2 separate regions of the Homo sapiens genome follow, and region 1 is linked to region 2. Evidence: promoter capture Hi-C in 16 types of primary human blood cells and fetal thymus (Javierre and others, 2016). All regions are on one chromosome and are shown on one strand. Each heading gives the region's core, a stretch centred on a gene start or on the middle of the fragment in contact. The rest is flanking DNA. Distances are from core to core; before and after follow the strand shown. Region 1 overlaps IRF4 (interferon regulatory factor 4). Region 2 holds the start of DUSP22 (dual specificity phosphatase 22).

Region 1 (2,892 bases), core at 381-2,880, 120 kb before region 2:
CTAAATCCTGTTCTCTTTATCCAGTTTTCCATTTGATTTTCACATTTGGAGTGTTAGTTAACCTATATCCCTTCTTTTTAGCAATGACCAAAATCAGAGGAGCTTCGAATATAAACAAAAGAAAACATTAAAAACAACTTCCTTGAAAGCCCTAAACCTTTTAAAGTACAGATAAAGGAAGAGGAGGCAGATGCTAACGGGAGAGCAGGATGATTACTCTTCACAGACACTCCTCTGTGTGGGAGGAGCAGCCCGGCACTTGGCCAGCGTTTGTCTCTTTAACAAGGTGAACACTTGGAGATCTGATTTCAGAGACACGTACAGCAGCCTCTCTGAAGGAACGTAACCGCAGGAGAAAGTGCTTTAAAAGCTATCAGGATGCATGTTTAATAACACACACACACATTCCATAACAAATTTTTAAAAGTTTTTATTTACCTAAAAACATAAATTTATCAAACATATCAATTTGCTTTGCAGAGCAATTTACATAAAAATTCATGATGTATACCAACGACAGCATAGCATTATCTACCTCAGTTTGTGAAGCATCCTTTCCTACAGATCTCAGCAAAACGCAGAGCCAGTAGGGGAAATTCAAGCTTTCATTTGGGGGCCTCTGGGGTCCTACCTGCTGGCAGTTCTTTCAGCAGAAAGTGGGGTACGGGGGATGCTGAAGAGGGGGAAGTGGACCCCATTGCCTGTTAAGTCCCATCTGTCTCAGTTTGAAGCAACACGGGAATTTCCATTGGAGGAGGGTTGGCCTGCCGGCCTGGCCCTTCTCTCACGTCCCCTCTACTTCAGCTACATTTCTTATGCATGTTCCTCAAAGCTGTGAAAATCAATACAAAAAAAAACTGACCTTTACTTCATTCCTGTAACAGGCTATCAGGATCTCAAGGAGATCCACCTGCATCGAGATCAGTCTCAAAAACGGGGCATGTAAAACATAACTTACAAAATGGTGTGTAAGGTCTGAGAGCCTTCACGCACCATTCAGACAGATGCAGCTGGCCACAGAGGACTTGGGGAGATACGTAATACAAATAAAGACCTTAACCAATCCCAACACTTTCAGAAAAACTTTCACCTGTGGGGAAGTGGGGGCATGTGACTGGAGAGCAATGAACGGAAGTTTACACTGGATCTGAATTGTTACTAAAAAAGTAACTGACACGCACACACAAGTGGCCTTCCTGGCGGAGCATCAACAAAGCCAAGAGGTGCGAGTACCCAAGACTCCCAGAGTTGTTCCACCCCTGGGGCTAGCTGTATTTATGCCCTCGCTCAAAGACCAGCTTTTTCAAACACTAATACCTACCTGCCCTTGGTGGTAACAATACTGTAAGGGCTGCTCATTTCACTGTAGGATTTTACATTTTTCTCACCATGGCACAGTCTCTTTTTAGTTCATACCCAATAGTCTAGCTGGGTTTTCTGTAGGGCGACTAACTCTCCTGTTTTCGCTCAGGACTCAGGGGCTTCCTAGGTTTCAGTTGTAAATGAGTCGGTCACTTGGTTCTCTATAGTGTTCCAGGAGATATTAATTACTGCTTGAGGTTTTCCTAAATATACAAAATCTCAAGAACAAGACATAAACCAAGAAATGCACCTGGGAGACACATACATTTTTTCCATATGACCCAGTGCTCTTTAACAAGTCCTCAAATCTTCAACAGCACTGTCCACTGAGTACAAACTAAATTCTAGTTTGCCAATTCCACTTTATCAAGACAAGGAATGAGGAAGCCGTTCCTTTTCAGAGTCCTGAGACAAGTGCTAGGATTCCTAACCCTGAGTATTTCATAGCTAGTTCATTCCCTAGGTCATACCCTGGATCACTCAGAATTTTAAAAAGTCAACATACACATAGATGTAAAGATAGGAAAGGAGGTAGTGGCCCCAGCCAAGAAGCATTTTCCAGAAAATTCAGCTCCACTGTTAAAGCAGCATAATATTTAAAAAAACAAAGAAGAAGAAGTCACAAAGCAATTGAAATGGAGCATCCGCTTGGAGAATTAAGAAGACAGGGTGCTCCTGAGACAGACTTCCAAGACAGCTTCTTTGAAGTGCTGTGTGGGGTTAAATATTCTTCAGCAAAGAGGGTCACAGGTAAGGGCCCCGTGAAACAGCAGTTCTTAATATCATCTTTATCTTCCCTTAGGATAATATACCCCAAAATACTTTGCATCTATAAGATGTATACATCACTGCAGTTCACGAAACACAGTCTGCTGCCCAATACATATCCATGTTGCATGGCTAATGAAATGTCAAACCCTACTGGGTACATGGCAGTGGAGCTCCACAGCAAGGCCTCTGAGCAGAACGAGGTAAATCTTCACTGTTAGCTACAAAGAGCACTGCATGAAAGTGTGTGCAAGATGACTCCATGAGGTTTTCTTTTTAAGTTTATGTATATTTACAGAAAAGTGAAATGTGTTGGAAGAATAAACACCCCTTCTTGTGGACACTTTTAGAGAGGAGAATTTGGGCTGGGAAAAAAGGAGATCCTTTTTATTTTTTTGCTGTTCTCTACTGTTTGTCTTTTCTGTAGTTAATATTAATATTAATTGTATTAATATTCTGACTTTAATATTAGAAACTTTTTAAACATTAAAAAATAATGTTTCAGTGCTCACTGCTCACTAAGCTTGATAAAGGCTGAACTGTGTAATGTAGGGATACAGCAGGCACTTACTAGGTGCTTGTTGAATGAATTTAAAATATCCATTAGAAAAGCAGGAACACACATTTGAGAGCTACGCAATCTTCTGCTGATCCTGGGAGTAATAGTAAATATCCTGTAGTATGAGAAACGGCCTGGAGGTGACGCCCCAGTCTACTGCTGTACTTTCTCAAAACCACAAAAATGTAAGTGATAGGTATACT
Region 2 (2,934 bases), core at 435-2,934:
ACTGCTTTTGTTGAAAAGCATGAAAATAACGTTGATCCCTTAGGCAACCATCTGTATTCCTAAATATATTTTTTGAATTGTATTACACAAATACTATAAATTAAATGCTGAAAACGGTGGAGAGTGAACAGCTCAAGTGGGAAAACTAGAAACAGCCAAAGGAAAGCTGAGATACCACCACCAATGGGAAGGCAAACGGAGCCCACAGACTTATGATGACCATCTTTATTGTTCTGTTTTAATTTAAAAAGCAGAAGGCTCGTGGTGCTGATGGATTCCAGTGCTCATCGGAATATAATACAAGTATTTATCCAAGAGAGAGACAGTCTGTTTCCAAACTTGATCACTCGCCAAAAAAAAAAAAAAAAAAAAAGTGAATACAATTCTCTTTACCAAAATACCCCAGTATTGATATGCAGGTCCCAAACACACAATAGTTCTTTCACAAACTGGGTAACCAGGACACAATAAACACGACATGCGCACGTGAAAAGTTAGCTAGGTTTTCCCTGCCCTACCGTGAATCCGCATTTGCAACACTCCAGCCCCAACACCCAAACCACTGCTGACCCAGTGCTGAGGGACATGAAAAAAAACACAGCCACATTGCCATCCCCACCCAGTGTGGAAGCTGACGGCATGTAGAGATGTGGGTGGGTGGAGCGCAATGAAAAAGTGAAGCAGAAAGACGACTCATCTAATCCAGGACCATTCAAAGACCCGTAAAAAGGTACTTGTCTTTGTTGCGGGCTTTGTAAAGTCTTGTCAATCCTTCCTCGAAACCAGCCAAGTACCAAGTAACAAAATCCTTAACCCTGTGGTTCACATGAATACACCCCGGCAACTCTCAGCTGCCAGAGCTGGAATCTGGCAACTTCCCTGGACGGGAAAGGCTAGCCCACCGCCCGGGAAGTGAGGTGCGGGCAACAAAAGAACACAGGGTGGGGCCCAGAAACGGACGGGACAAATGGAGCAACACAGATTTTCCAGAAGGCCTCATCAGCGCAAGCAGCCAGCAACAGGTTGCCCTTGTTGCAGAAGTCACATAACCTAATCAACTCTGAATCTTTTCTCTCCTCCCCACTATCTAGAAACAGCTCAGGACTTAGGACTCTGTTAACTTCTCTGTCCACAAGAAAAACTTCTCTGTGCTCACAGGCACACACACAGAATCTGAGGAGAAAGAGGAAATTACAGAGGACACCCGTTTACTAATGATGTGGGGGGGGCGGTGGTGGCTTCAAGAGCGTAGTTTGGGAGCGAAGAGGAGGGCAAAAAAGAAGCCACATCCATTCGGAGCTCAGCTGACCTCTCGGCAGAACAAGTGTCAACGCTTTCAAAGGGCGCGGCTTGTTTCAGCCACGAAAACGCACCGGCTGGCAAGGCAGGCGGCTGGGGGCTGCCTACCCGGAAGCCGGGTGGGGTGGGGGCGGGAACACCTCCGAACCCCGACTCCGCGGTCGCCGCCCAGGCGCGCCGCCCCTCCCTCCGCGCCCGTCCCCACCGCGGGAAAGGGCACCCCGGGCTCGAGTCGTCGGGCAGCCGACGCCGGCGAGACGGCAGGGCGTCGGAGCGGAGGCAAACCCAGCGCGAACGAGGGAAGACGTTACCTTGTTCATCCCATTCCCCATGGTGGCTGAAGGCGAACGCTAGCGCCCCGGCCGTGTGGTCGCAGGCGCACTATGGCATGTTACAGGGAGGAGGAGCGGCGGGGCGGGCGGGGAGGAGGCGCGCGGGAGGGACTGAGTGCTCGCAGTGTCAACAAGTCAGCGGCAGGGACCGGCCGGGCAACCCAGGGCGCTCCAGAGACCCGGCGTGGAGGGCAGGGCTTTCTGTGCGGCGGCCTAGAACTTCCCGGCGGGAGCCGGGCAGGGGCACCGGAGCCTATGCCGGGAAATGGTCCCGCCTTGCCGGTCCCCGCCCCCGTGCGCACCGGGCAGGCCCAGCGTCCCTCCTCGCTCCGCCCGCCCGCACCCTGGGATTCGTAGTCGGGTTCCTGGCTGCCGCGCCCCACTCCGCCCTCGCGGACCCCGGCTCGCGGCCGCCGGGCGTGGGAGGCACTAGGCTCGGGCTCCCAGGCGGCCGGCCCCGGAGGCCAGAGCGCGTGCGCGGCCCGAGCCGCCCCGCCGGGACACCCGAGGCTGCGCGGCGGGGCCTGGCGGACGCGCAGGCGCTGCCCTGACCGGGCGGCTGCGCTCGTCTCGGAGCCCGCTCCCCGGCCGGGGGTCTCCAGATCCCCCTTTGGCCTTTTCCCCTGGGGCGACTCCGGGGGCCAGTTACCAGCAGTCGCTACCCAGCCTTGGCTGCCTCCGTGAATCAGGTGCTAATCAGAGGCCTGGTCTCTGGGGGCTCCCCTGCCTGGGTTTTCTGAGTGCGGCAGATTTAGGCTGGGGGATTTCCTGCGGCCCTGCCCCATGCACCAAGACCGAGAAGCCTCGCCTGGTGGGGAGAGGTGGGCTACGTGACTCACCCCGGGGAGGCCCGACCTCCCTACCCTGGGGGAGCAGATGGCTGGATCTCTGACCTCAGACCTCACGGCCTTAGATGATGTGTGTCCCTTAATGTCTGCATTGTGGTTCTGTCTGGAATGGATCAATTTCTAAACTGTAGCAGAATTGTTTTGGGTGTTCTATCAACGTTATTAAACTCTGAAGTTTCTCTCCAGCGACAGAATCCTTGAGCCAGTGGTTTTTCTTCTTAATTTATGTATCCTCAACAATGTCCTGAACATAGTAGGTGCTTAATAAATATTTGCTGAATGAGTACATGCGTCAATCTGACGTGCCCTGGCTCACCCCTGCTGACTTCATTTTATCTTCTTGCTAAGCGAGTTACACACATGCTGGTCTCCTGTCTGTTCCTTGAGCCTGTCAGGCTTGCTGGGCTGTGCTCTCTATCCAGACACCTGGATCCCCAGCTCTCTGCATACCTGCC

The links. Contacts are between HindIII fragments. The CHiCAGO score rates a contact against its expected background, and 5 or more counts as called.
Region 1: a contact is called between a fragment that was not itself captured here and the fragment with the promoter of DUSP22 in region 2, in 8 of 17 cell types (total B cells, M2 macrophages, naive B cells and 5 more). The highest score is 13.0, in total B cells.

What each region holds. Positions count from the first base shown.
Region 1 is chr6:408,962-411,853 of GRCh38, reverse strand. IRF4 (interferon regulatory factor 4) reads right to left here. Exons shown (of 9, transcript NM_002460.4): 9 at 411-2,892. Among named protein-coding and RNA genes, the nearest start is that of IRF4, 19 kb to the right of the region's middle. RefSeq lists enhancers at 17-166, 1,067-1,216, 1,637-1,726. The HindIII fragment of the contact is 2,051 bases long and covers 605-2,655 here.
Region 2 is chr6:291,237-294,170 of GRCh38, reverse strand. DUSP22 (dual specificity phosphatase 22) reads right to left here and starts at 1,684. Exons shown (of 7, transcript NM_001286555.3): 1 at 1,611-1,684. The coding sequence starts at 1,631. RefSeq lists silencers at 392-451, 462-521, 401-557, 1,302-2,321 and enhancers at 952-1,211, 1,504-2,004, 2,005-2,505, 2,432-2,721. The HindIII fragment of the contact is 6,707 bases long and covers 1-2,934 here.